Regions from separate parts of the Homo sapiens genome. Here region 2 is linked to region 1. Evidence: promoter capture Hi-C in human tissues and cell types (Jung and others, 2019). All regions are on one chromosome and are shown on one strand. The core of a region is centred on a gene start or on the middle of the fragment in contact, and the rest is flanking DNA. Distances in the headings are between cores, read along the strand shown.

The links. The method cuts DNA at HindIII sites, captures the fragments that hold promoters and counts their contacts. A contact is called where the count stands out against the background at its distance.
Region 2: a fragment that was not itself captured here is called in contact with the fragment with the promoter of BRD4 in region 1 in 1 of the 25 tissues and cell types used here (dorsolateral prefrontal cortex).

The regions. Positions count from the first base shown.
Region 1 is chr19:15,329,256-15,335,618 of GRCh38, reverse strand. BRD4 (bromodomain containing 4) reads left to right here and starts at 3,080. Exons shown (of 20, transcript NM_001379291.1): 1 at 3,080-3,329. It overlaps LOC124904643 (a long non-coding RNA gene), which reads right to left and starts at 3,006. Exons shown (of 4, transcript XR_007067146.1): 1 at 2,971-3,006. RefSeq lists silencers at 2,771-2,840, 2,981-3,080, 3,311-3,540, 3,741-3,840, 3,871-4,020 and 2 more and an enhancer at 2,198-2,814. The HindIII fragment of the contact is 25,776 bases long and covers 1-6,363 here.
Region 2 is chr19:15,829,836-15,836,198 of GRCh38, reverse strand. It overlaps LOC124900418 (collagen alpha-1(I) chain-like), which reads right to left. Exons shown (of 3, transcript XM_047439793.1): 2 at 4,843-4,944; 3 at 1-981. UCA1 (urothelial cancer associated 1) reads right to left here. Exons shown (of 3, transcript NR_015379.3): 2 at 4,843-4,944; 3 at 1-1,697. Among named protein-coding and RNA genes, the nearest start is that of UCA1, 4.1 kb to the right of the region's middle. RefSeq lists an enhancer at 62-1,261. The HindIII fragment of the contact is 5,632 bases long and covers 1-5,435 here.

The sequences.
Region 1 (6,363 bases), core at 1,831-4,330:
TAGTCCCAGCTACTCGGGAGGCTGAGGTGGGAGGATTGAATGAGCCTAGGAGGTCGAGGCTTCGGTGAACCATGAATGCAACACTGCACTCCAGCCTTTGGTGAACCATGAATGCAACACTGCACTCCAGCCTGGGCAACAGAGCAAGACCCTGTCATAAATGAATAAATTAATACATAGATACATGAATGAATGAAAAAATTTAATTTTTAACTTTGCTTAGGACCCATTAGTGATTTATGATTGCCCCTGGTTAAGCATGAGCAAACACATGATAGAAAAGAACTATTTTACTGGTATCCTATTATATCCATATATTCTGAAACCATGGGCCATCAGGAAATGTTTCATTACTTGGACTTAAAAAAAAAATACCACGCAGACTTTTTTGTTTTTTTTTTTGAGACGGAGTTTTGCCCTGTCACCCAGGCTGGAGTGCAGTGGCATGATCTTGGCTCACTGCAACCTCCACCTCCCAGGTTCAAGCGATTCTCCTGCCTCGGCCTCCTGAGTAGCTGGGACTACAGGTGCCCGCCACCACACCCGGCTAATTTTGTTTGTATTTTTAGTAGAGACGGGGTTTCACCATGTTGCCCAGGTTGGTCTCAAACTCCTGACCTCAGGTAATCTACCCGCATTGGCCTCCCAAAGTGCTAGGATTACAGGTGTGAGCCACTGTGCCTGGCCCCATGTAGACTTTTTAGAACTGAGTTTGCTTTCCTTTTTTTTTTTTTTTTTTTTTTGAGATGGAGTCTCACTGTCGCCCAGGCTGGAGTGGAGTGGCACGATCTCAGCTCACTGCCACCTCTGCCTCTTGGGTTCAAGTGATTCTCCTGCCTCAGCCTCCAAAGTAGCTAGGATTACAGGCACCCGCTACCATACCTGGCTAATTTTTATATTTTTAGTAGAGTCGAAGTTTCACCATGTTGGCCAGGCTGGTCTAGAACTCCTGACCTCAGGTGATCCACCTGCCTCGACCTCCCAAAGTGCTGGGATTACAGGTGTGAGCCACCGCGCCCAGCCTGCTTTCCATTTTTAAAAGATGGGAATACAAAATGCTAAGAGAATGGCCTGGGTGCGGTGGCTCACGCCTGTAGTTCCAGCACTTTGGGAGGCTGAGGGAGGTGGATCGCTTGAGCCCAGGAATTCAAGACCAGTCTGGGCAACATGGTGAGACCTCCTCTCCACAAAAATACAAAAATTAGCTGGGCACGGTGGCGCACACCTGTGGTCCCAGCTACTAAAGAGGCTGACGTGGGAGGATCACTTGAGACTGAGAGTTTGAGGTTACAGTGAGCTATGATCCAGCCACTGCACTCCAGCCTGGGTGACAGAGCAAGATCTTGTCTTAAAAAAAAAAATATATATATATATAAAAGGAAAGAGAAGTGGTTGTTTCCAGGTTTGAAAAATTTCACAGTATTATTTTAAGCTACAAGAGACATATGCCTAACTTCCTCCTTTTAGCAATCTCAAAACTACCCCATGTTTACTAAGCTCTTCCGTGGCCAGGTGGGGTGCTTTGGAAGCCCTAGAAGAGGTCATATGATGTTTTTTCCCCTCGGACTCACACATGTAGAGTAGGCACATACGTCCTGGAGCTGACTTAGGGTTGAGTCTTTTTCTTTTTTGGAGACAGAGCCTTGCTCTGTCGCCCAGGCTAGAGTGCAGTGGCACAATCTCGGCTCACTGCAACCTACGCCTCCCGGGTTCAAGTGATTCTTCTGCCTTAGCCTCCTGAGTAGCTGGCATTACAGGCATGGGATTACAGGCATGCGCCACCACACCCGGCTAATTTTTTTTTTTTTTTTTTGAGACGGAGTCTCGCTCTGTCGCACAGGCTGGAGTGCAGGGGCGCGATCTCCGCTCACAGCAAGCTCCGCCTCCCGGGTTCACGCCATTCTCCTGCCTCAGTCTCTCGAGTAGCTGGGACTACAGGCGCCCACCACCACACCCGGCTAATTTTTTGTATTTTTAGTAGAGACGGGGTTTCACCGTCTTAGCCAGGATGGTCTCGATCTCCTTACCTCGTGATCTGCCCGCCTCCCAAAGTGCTGGGATTACAGGCGTGAGCCACTGCGCCCGGCCCACACGGGGCTAATTTTTGTATTTTTAGTAGAGGCGAGGTTTCACTCTGTTGGCTAGGATGGTCTCCAACCCCTGGCCTCAAGCCAACCTCCTGCCTCTGCCTCCCAAAGTGCTGAGATTACAGGTGTGAGCCACCGAGCCTGGTCTGACTTGGGGTTGAGTCTTAAGGATGGGAAGGAGCTGGGCGCGGTGGCTCACGCCTGTAATACTAGCACTTTGGGAGGTCGAGGCAGGAGGATCGCTTGAGTCCAGGAGACAGAGACCAGCCTGGCCAACATCGTGAGATCCCATCTCTACAAAAAATAGTTAGCTGGGTGTGGTGGTGCACACCTGTAGTCCCAGCTACTTGGGAGGCTGAAGCAGGAGGATCGCTTGAGGCCAGCAGGTTGAGGCTGCAGTGAGCTATGACTGCACTACTGCACTCCAGCCTGGGGGACAGAGCAAGACCATGTCCCTTTTTTTAAAAAGGTGGGTTGGAAGAAGATCAACAGGGGGGCATAAGAGGAGAAAGGTGCTACCTCCCTGCCCAGGGGCAGCCAAGGAGGATCCGCCTCGGCCTTGCTCGCAGCCTCCTCTCACCTCCTTTCCTCCACTTCACCCCAGCCCCGGCGCCCCCATCGCAGCTCTCTCGCCTCAGCCTCCCTACCTGGGGTCCCCCCTTAGGGCTCTCTCCTCCGCCTCCTCCATCAGTCTGTGGGGTCCCTCCTCACCATCCTCCCTCCCTGTGAGGGTCTGTCTTCAGACCTTTCTTAGTATTTTGGATGTCTCTCTCAGCCTTCAGATCTTTTCCCGCAGGCCCAGCCTGCAGTCCGCCCGTTTCCCCCAGCCCGCTCCTTCGCTCTGCGGGGTCTCCTCCCTCAGTCCGCGGTATCCCCCACTCACCTCGCAGCCACTGTCTCTCCAGAGCTCGTTCGCGCTGGGCGCGGGGGCGGGGCGCGCACACCGGGCGGCGGCGGCGCGGGGCCGCGCGCGCAGCGTGCGCGGTGACGTCAGTGCGCTGGCGGCGGCGGCGGCGGCGGCGGCGGCGGCTGGGCTGTTTGTTCTGGTCTCCCGCAGCCGAGGAGCCGAAGCAGTGGCGGCGGCAGCGGCTGCGGCGGCTGCCGGCGGTGCCCGCGGGCGAGCGCGGCCTGTGAGCTCGGCAGAGCGGCGGGCGGGCCCCGGCGCCGCGCAGGCAGCTCGGGGAGGGGGCGGCGGCAGCGGGCGGACGGCCGGCGGGGGCGGCGTGCGGCCTAGCGTCTCAGGTGAGGACTGGTGCCCTTTGGGGCGGCGGACGACACTGGGCGGCTGGCGGAGGCTCGCGGCGCGGTCCGCGTAACCTGCATTGCGTAATGGGGCCGGGGCGCCGCCACCTACGCCATCCGCGCGGCGCGGGGGCGGGGAGGCCGGGGCTACGCGGGCTCGGGCCTGCGGGCCTCCCGCGCCGTTCGTTCCGGGCCGGGGCGGCCTGCGCCGTTGGTGTCGGGGCGGCGGGGTCGCTCGCGGCTGTCCTGCCTTTGGTGCCGTCGGACCCGGGCTTGGGCTGGCCGGCGGGGCGCGGGTGGGGGGCGCGGGCGCCGCGGCGGGGCCGGCGGTCGGGGGCGGGCGGGGGGCGGGCCGAGGCGCCCGGCACTTCCTGCCGCCGCCATTTTGTTAAGTGAGGAGGAGGAGGAGGAGGAGGAAGCGGCCGCCGCGGGGTCCGCGGCGCGCCCGGCCCGGGTAAGTCCCGGCCTGGCGCGGGGGCCGCGAGCGCAGCTGTCCCGGTCCGCGGTCCTCTAGGCGGGCTCGGCCGCGGCGCTCACGTGGGCCGGGGCCGGCGCGCTCTCCTTCTGGCACCCAGGTCGTTTTGCCTGGGCCGGGGCAGCGCGCCCCCACCCCCATCTCTTCACCTTCCCGGCGGTCCCCGGAGTGCTGCGGAGAAAGGGGCAGGTCCCCTGCGGAGGGAGGTGGCTGCGGCTGCACGCCGGTCTGAGGCCAGGCCTCAGGGCGGGAGCGGTGCCCTGGAGGCGAGCTTGGCCCGCTTGACGCACCCACTCTCAGCCTGGCAGCCCCTTGCTGGGCGCTTTGTTTTGCTCGGTCCGTGCTCGCCGGCGTCCTTGCAACGGCCTATTTTATTTGCAGTGTTGTGTGGTGGTGGTGATTGTGGTGATTTGGGGTGGGGATGTGGGGGAGTTGTGATTCAGCGAAATAAAATGATCCCCCTCCTCCCAAACGGAAATAGCATGGCTTCACTCGGCTGAGATGCCCCCAAGGCTTGGGTTTGCTTGAAGATGGGAAACCCCACTCTGTTGTAGTGGACGGTGTAAATACTTTAGTTCAGGCCGGTGCATGAGTCATGTGCTTCTCCTGGGTGGCTGACCTCCCTTTTACTCAAGACTACGCTTTGTTTTTTTAAGATTTTTATTTGCTTGTTTACTTGTTTACGTTTCGTGCAGCCTGGTGGGGTGTCTGGTCTTGGGTTCATTTCTCTGCGTGTGTGTTGGATGCTAGTGACCCCTTGGAATGTATGCCTCACGAGAATTGGAATGTCTTTGCTTACCTTCGACAGGGCTCTACCAGTCCGTGGTTCCAAAAACCAAGTCGCAGTTTACCTCGTAAGCCAGTGGCTCTTTGGGGCTGTAACAATGGTCGGGAGTTTTTTGTGAATGGAGCTGTCAAGTTCCCTACCGTCTTTGGAAGTTGTAAAGAAAGCGATACTCAAAAGGATTTATGAATGTGTTTTTAATTTCAAGAAAGTTTTTGATGGCACAATCTGTTTTATGATCTTGCCAATATATACATATACTTTTAGATGGAGTCTCGCTCTGTCGCCCAGGCTGTAGTGCAGTGGCGCGATCTCGGCTCACTGCAACCTCTGCCTCCTGGGTTCAAGCGATTCTCCTGTCTCAGCCTCTCGAGTAGCTGGGACTACAGGCGCCCGCCACCACATCTAGCTAATTTTTGCATTTTTAGGAGAGACGCGGGTTTCACCATGTTGGCCAGGCTGGTCTCGAACTCCTGACCTCAGGTGTTCCATCCTCCTCGGCTTCCCAAAGTGTTGGGATTACAGGCATGAGCCACCGTTCCCGGCCGCCAATAATTTCATAAAGCATTTATTTCGGTTTAATTTGGGTGGGGATTATGTTTTTTATCTTTTTATCTTATCACTGATGCGTTGTAGATAACCAAGCGCTTCCCCCCAAAAACTTCAGCCAGGGAAAGATAAACCACTCAGGGTTTCCATTGATCAAATGGAGAAGGCAAAGCCTAATCTGAAACAAAATGTATTGCTGCTCTGTTATCCACCATACCTCTTTCTTTGGTAGGAAACATAGTATCTTAAAGGCTCAAACTGGAGTTAGCCGGTCTCAGAATGGCTTTAGTTGGTCTTAATTGGAAGGAGTCGAGTCCACCTCCGAGTATCTTGCTAGCAGTCAGCCCAGTGGAATTGCTGAAGATAAGGAACTTTGCCTACGGATGAAAGATAAGAAGGTAGCTGCTGAGTTTTAAGGATTGTTTGGCTGTTCTGGGGTGCTATATGCCTAGCTTCGCTAGTCTGGAGGACAGCGAGGGAAAATTTTTAGCTAAGAATAACGAGAATCATTGGCCACTTAGTAACATTTCCACTAAATTATTGAATTGTTTAAAGGAATTTAGACTTTGTTTCTAAAAGTTGCCTTTTTGAGCCAGTTGTTGTGATCTTTGTACTAAATTGCACTTTTGCTTTAGGAGGTGGGGGTAACAATATTTTCTTGTTTCACAATTCAGGTTATTGAATGACTTCAGATTTACAGATTTAAGAGATTGAATTTTGTTTTGTTTTTATTTTTTATTTTTTTGAGAGAGTCTGAAGTCAGTCGACAGGCTGGAGTGCAGTGGTGCGATCTCGGCTCACTGCAACCTCTGCCTCCTGGGTTCAAGCGAGTCTCCTGCCTCAGCCTCCCGAGTAGCTGGGATTACAGGCACGCGCCGCCACGCCCAGCTAATTTTTGTATTTTTAGTAGAGACGGGGTTTCATCATATTGGCCAGTATGGTCTCGATCTCCTGATCTCGTGATCCGCCAGCCTCGGCCTCCCAAAGTACTGGGTTTACAGGCATGAGCCACTGCGCCCGGCCTGTTTTGTTTTTAAAGCAAAAAACCATTTGGCACCTCAGTGATTTGAAGACCCTGGGCTGTTAAATCTGCTTCTGACAACCTACTGTATAGTGTGTTGTATTTTGTGAATGTAAAATGTTTTGGTTTCTGATTTTGAATAAACTTGTAGAGTAGACCATGTTTGTCTTTATGTTCCTGGCAAATCTGTAAAAAGGAAAGATAA
Region 2 (6,363 bases), core at 1,370-3,869, 500 kb before region 1:
CATCAGACTGCCTTTGGGTTGAGGTTCCTGTCACGCGTGTCCGTATAGAAGACACCCAATCAGGCTTTGTGTGAGCAACAAGGCTGTTAATTCACTTGGGTGCAAGTGGGCTGAGTCCGAAAAGAGAGTCAGTGAAGGGAGATAGGAGAGGGGCAGCTTTATAGGGCTTGGGTAGGCGTGGAAAGTTACAGTTAAAGGTGGTTATCCTCAGCAGAGGAGGGGGTCACAAGGTGCATGGTGGAGAGATGATGGGACTCATTGTCCAGGAGAAGAATGTCACAGGGTTGATTGATCAGTTGGGGCAGGGCAGGAACAAGTCATAATGGTGGACAAGTCATAATGGTGGAATGTCGTAAGGTGGGTTAATTAGTTAAGGCAGGAACTGGCTGTTTCACTTCTTTGTGGTTTTTCGGCTGCTCCAGACTTCTTGGCTCCTGCAGGCCACCTGGACGGATATGTGCAGGTCACAGGGGTTACAATGGCTAAGCTTCAGCTCACAGGCCTGACATTTTTGTCTTTTTATTTATAAAATATGAAGTTGTAGGAAAAGATTAAAAAAAAGTGTAAGTTCCTTCTGGGGATTACTGGGGTAGGGCTGATATTTCTCCGGACTGCTTCAAGTGTGACCAGGGACTGCGTGGACACCTTAAAGAAAATTTTATAATGAGTCTAGTAAGTTTCGGGTCTAGGGTGCATTTTTATGTAGCTAACAAGGTGCCAGTTAGCGTATTTTTGAGCTTGGAACTGCCCTAATAAAATAAGTTCTCTAAAAACAGTAATCAGGCATATTAGCTTTAATGTAGGTGGCGATGAGTTTTTAGGCCAAGGAAGGAATAATGTTTTATGTACCAAAGCCTTTTGTCCCCATTTTCCATCATACGAATAGTATTCCCTGTTGCTAAGCCGATGATACATTACCCTTTTCCCATAGGTGTGAGTGGCGGTCTGAATGGAGAAGTTCAATAGTTCTGATTGCAGATCCTATGCAGAAGAGATAATAAGGAAAATAATCTTTGTCTCCTGGATTAAGCTGAGGCTGGCAAAGAGTGAAATGTCCCAAGCCCTCTAACAACAAACAACATACTTTGTGTTGTCCTGGATGCTGGTCTGGTTGCCAAATATGTGGAACTGGCCCCATATGCGTGTACTGTTGTCCATTTCATGAGAGTAGGCTTGAGGACACCATGGGCAAGGATCTGATGGTTGCCAGCCTAAGCGTTTTAGACTTTTGACCCAGAGATTTTTTGTTTTGGGTGTGGAAAAAATTTTAGAGGATAGGGTCTCAAGATATAATCCTTTTTATAGGCGGCAGGTCTTAAGAGATGAGGGTCCAGAGGAACGGATGAAGCCTGCTTGGAAGCATGCTGGGATGGCCATTTGGAAGGAGTGTTGCAAGGAAGCATGGCCTTGGCTGGGCGCTGCCAGGAGCTTAAGGGTTGTAGGTTGTTTGTCTGATCGGCTCTCGGCCTAATCTTGTGGCTTCCAGGAGGAAGAGGAGAGATCAAGCTGGCTGTCTGATGGGCATGGCTTTATTCTGGAATGGTGAACCCAATGGAGAGGGTCCTGCAGATGGACGGCAGTTGGTGTGCTATAAATGACCGGGTAGGGTCTGGTCCATTGAGGCTGTAGAGTTTGAGGGGTCAGACTTTTGACAAGGACTGATCGTCCAGCTAGGGTGTCTTCATATGGCTGGGAATCTGGAGTAGGCAAGAGAAGATTAGCAGCTTGGCAAATTTCCTGTCTAGCCTGCTAGAGGACTGGAAGATAGTTGCCCAGGGGGCTGGTGTCTGGAACAAGATTGTGGCTGAGTAAGAAGGTGCATCCATATAAAATTGAAATGGGTTGTACCCTGTGGCTTCTCAAGGACAGGCCCTAATTCTGAGGAGGGCAAGTGGTAAAAGTACTGTCCAGTCCTTTTTAAGTTGGAGGCTGAGCTTGGTGAGGTGTGTTTTTAAAAGACCATTCATCCGTTCTACCTTTCCTGAAGATTGAGGACGGTAGGGGGTATGAAGTTTCCACTGAATACCAAGAGCCTGAGAAACTGTGGAAGTAGGGAGGCCAAATTGGGGGATTATATCTGTCAGAAGGGAAGAAATGACTGTAGTAGCCTTTCAGAGCTAGTGGGAAAGGCCTCGACCCATCCGGTGAAGGTATTGGCCCAAACCAGGAGATATTTAAATTTACAGACACGCGGCATATGAATAAAGTCAATTTGCCAATCTTGTGTCGGAGGAAATCCATGAGCCTGATGCGTAGGAAAAGGAGGAGGCCTGAGAAGACCTCGGGGGTTGGTGGCATGGCAGACAGAGCATTGAGAGGTGATGGTTTTAAGGATGGATTTCCATGATGGGATGGAAATGAGGGGCTGTAGGAGGCCAGCCAGAGGCTTATATCCTATATGGAAATGGTCATGAAGGGAAGAGAGAGTAGACTGGGCTTGTGAGGCAGGAAGAACGAATTTTCCATGATCTAAGAACCACTTGCCCTGAGTTGGAAAAGACTGGTAGAGCAGGTTTTTTAGAAGAGGAGTAGGTGGGGGTGATAGAGAAGAAAGAAAAGTACTAGCCTTTTGGGGTGAGGGCTAGAATATTTGCAGGCGTGGAGGCATTTGCTGTTTCTTTTGCTGTCCTGTTGGCGTAGGCATTTCCTTTAGCAATAAGATCAGTTGGTTTCTGGTGTCCTTTACAATGAATGAACCCAGCTTTGGCCAGCAAGAGAGCAGCATTAAGGAGGGCCTTTATTAGAGAGGTATTGATAATGGAAGAGCCTTGTGTGGTGAGAAAACCTCTTTCAGTCCAAAGGGTAGCATGGTTGTGGAGGATGTGGAAAGCATATTAGGAGTCAATATAAATTTTAATGTGCATTCCTTTGGCGACAGAGAGTGCACAAGTTAAAGCAATCAGTTTGGCTTGTTGGGAAGTAGTGGAGGGAGGAAGTGCAGCAGCCTCAATAATAGAGGTATGGGACACGACAGCATAACCAGCTTTAGCTGGCGAGATTTGACTGGGTTTAGAGGAACTGCCATGAATAAACCAAGTGTGGTCTGGATTTGGGATTGGAAAAATAGAAATATGAGGAAAGGGGGAAGATGCTATGTGTATTAGGGAGATACAATCATGTTGGCCAGGACTTGTGTTGGGTGCTAAGTGAGAAGCTGGGTTGAAATCGGGCCCATGGGCAGTAGTTATTGTTGGGGTTTCAATAAAGAGTGAATAGAGCTGGAGATGTCGAGGGGCAGACAGCAAGTGTGAAAGGTGTGAGGAGGATATTAATGCTTGAAGGTTGTGAGAACTGTAGAGGGTAAGTGGAGCATAGCCTGTGATTTTGAGAGACTCTGGAAGTGTTAAAGCGGCAGCTGCCACCACATGTAGACATGAGGGCCAGCCTAGAATTGTGAGGTCAAGTTGTTTGGATAGAAAGGCTATAGGTCGTGGGCCTGGCTCCTGTGTGAGAACTCCAGCAGCACAGCCTTGTGTTTCAGCTGTGTGTAAGGAAAAAGGTTGGGACAAGTCAGGGAGTGCTAGTGTGGGAGCTGTTTCTAGGGCCTTTTTGAGAGAATGAAAGGAAGCATGGGGAAAGGACTTATGGTCTATGGGATCAGCTAAATTACCTTTAGTGAGTTTGTAAAGCAGTTTGGTTAGAATGGCAAAACCTTGGTACCCAGAGTCGGAAGTATCCAACAACGCCTAAGAAGGAAAGGAGTTGTTGTTTGGTGGTGGGGAATAGGGTCTGGGAGATTAACTGAACACAGTCTGCAGGAAGAGTGCGTGTATGTTGATGGAGGACTATGTCGAGATATGTAACACTAGGGGAGGAAATATGAGCTTTAGAGGGGGATACTCAGTACCCCTTTGAGTAGAGATATTGAAGAAGTAGGATAGGATAGTGTCCTGCTGGGAAGATTGGTAAGAAGGGCTGCAAAGAAGAAGGTCTTCAACATATTGAATAAGGTGGGAGGCAGATGGGCAGAAAGAAAGTCATGAGAGAGGGCCTGACCAAAGTAGTGTGGGCTGTCCCTGAAACTTTGGGGTCGGACAATCCAGGTGAATTGCTGGGACTGGTGGGTGTCAGGGTCAGTCCAAGTAAAGGTGAAAAGAGGTTGGGAGGAGGGATGCAAGGGGATGGTAAAGAAGGCATCTTTGAGGTGGATAACAGAATAATGAGTTGTGGAAGGGGGTGTCGAGGAGAGGAGAGTATAGGGTTTGGCACAACAGGATGGATGGGAAGGACAATCTGATTTATGAGGTGAAGGTCTTGAACTAGCCTCTAGGACTTGTCCGGTTTCTGGATGGGTAGGATAGGGGAGTTGTAAGGAGAATTTGTAGGCTTCAAAAGGCCACGTTGTAACAGGCAAGTGATAACAGGCTTCAGTTCCCTTTAAAGCCTGCTGCGGGCTGGGATACTGGTATTGAGCAGGGTAAGGGTGATTAGGTTTTAATGGAATGGTAAGGAGTGCATGGTCAGTTGCCAAAGAAAGAGTAGAAGTATCCTATACTTGAGGATTAAGGTGGGGAGATACAAGGGGAGGATGCGAAAGAGGCCTTGAATTGGGGAAAAGGACAGCAATGGGGTGTGGCTGTAGCCCAGCAATAGTCAGGGAAGCAGATAATGTGGTTAAAATATCTCAGCCTAATAAGGGAACTGGGCAGGTGGGGTTAACTAAAAAGGAGTGCATAAAAGAATGTTGTCCAAGTTGGCACCAGAGTTGGGGAGTTTTAAGGGGTTTAGAAGCTTGGCCGTCAATACCCACGGCAGTTACGGGGGCAAAGGAAACAGGCCCTTGAAAAGAAGGTAATGTGGGGTGGGTAGCCCCCGTATTGATTAAAAAGGGGATGGACTTACCCTCCACCGTAAGAGTTACCCGAAGCTCGGCATCTGTGATGGTCCAAGGGGCTTCTGAGGCGATCGGGCAGCATCAGTCTTCAGCCACTAAGCCGAGGAGATCTGGGAAGGAGTCAGCCAGAGAGCTTTGAGCCAGAGCTCCAGGGACCCTAGAAGGGGCTGTGATATTAGTTGGACAGTCCGATTTCCAGTGGGGTCCCGCACAGGTGGGACAGGCTTAGGAGGAATCCCGGGCTGCAGGCATTCCTTGGCCCAGTGGCCAGTTTTGCGGCACTTGAAGCAAGGTCCATGAGATGGTTTTAAAGGAGTGCCTAGAGGCTGTGGTTTGGTTGCTCTGAAGTTTTTGTGTGCTGAAGGCATGGCTGGGGTTTGTCTTACAGCAGAGGCAAGCAATTGCAGCTCTGAAAGACGTTGCTGCTTGGCTGCCTCTTCTCTATTGTTGAACACCTTGAAGGCGAGATTGATTAATTCCTGTTGTGGGGTTTGAGGGCCAGATTCCAATTTTTGAAGCTTTTTTTGTAATGTCAGGAGCTGACTGAGTGATAAAATGCATATTGAGAATAAGATGGCCTTCTGGCCCTTCAGGGTCTAGGGCTGTAAAGTTTCTAAGGGTAGCCACCAAACGGGCCATGAACTGGGCTGGATTTTCATCTTTACCTTGGGTGGCTTCTTAAAGCTTGTCATAATTAACAGCTTTGTATGCTGCCTTTTTCAGCCCTTCAGCTAGGCAAGAGACCATGTAATCTCGCCTAGCTATACCTGGGGAGCCTGTCTGGTATTCCCATCAAGGATCCTCTCAGGGAACTGCCCTGATGCCTTCTTGGAGGTCTGGCTCATGATGCCGGCGGGTGTTAGCGTGAGATTGGGCTAGGGTATAAACTCTTTCCTGCTCATCTGGGGAGAGGGTAGAGGTCAGGATGACATTTAGGTCACTGCAGGTTAAAGTGTAGGACTGAGTCAAATATTGGAATTCCTGTGTATATTTAGTGGGGTCTGATGAGAAAGAGCCCAGACGCTGACTGATTGGGAAAGGTCTGATAGAGAAAAAGGTATATGAACCTTTACTGTGCCCTCAGCTCCAGCCACCTCTCTATGAGGAAATTGTTGGGCAGGTGGGGGAGAGCTAGTCATGGAATGAAACTAAGCCTGACCAAGTTTGAGGAGGGGAGGTGATAGAAGAATTATAAGATGGGGGAGCGGAGGCTGAGGAAGAATTGGGACTTGATTCAGCCTGCCAAGGAGTGGCCTGGGGAGGGGGAGAGAGGTCAGAGGGGTCTGCAGAAAAGGGGGATTCAGGGGACTCTGAGGTTGGGGTAGAGACTGAAGGAACGGACGGGAGAGAAAGAAGAAAAATTTGGGATGAGTCACATTGGGAGCAGAGGCTTGGGAGGGAGCGAAGTGTAAAAAATGCCTGGACGCAAGGCACCTCAGACCATGTGCCCATTTTTTGACAAAAATGATCTAGGTCTTGTAGGATGGAGAAATCAAAAGTGCCGTTTTCTGGCCACTTGGAACCATTGT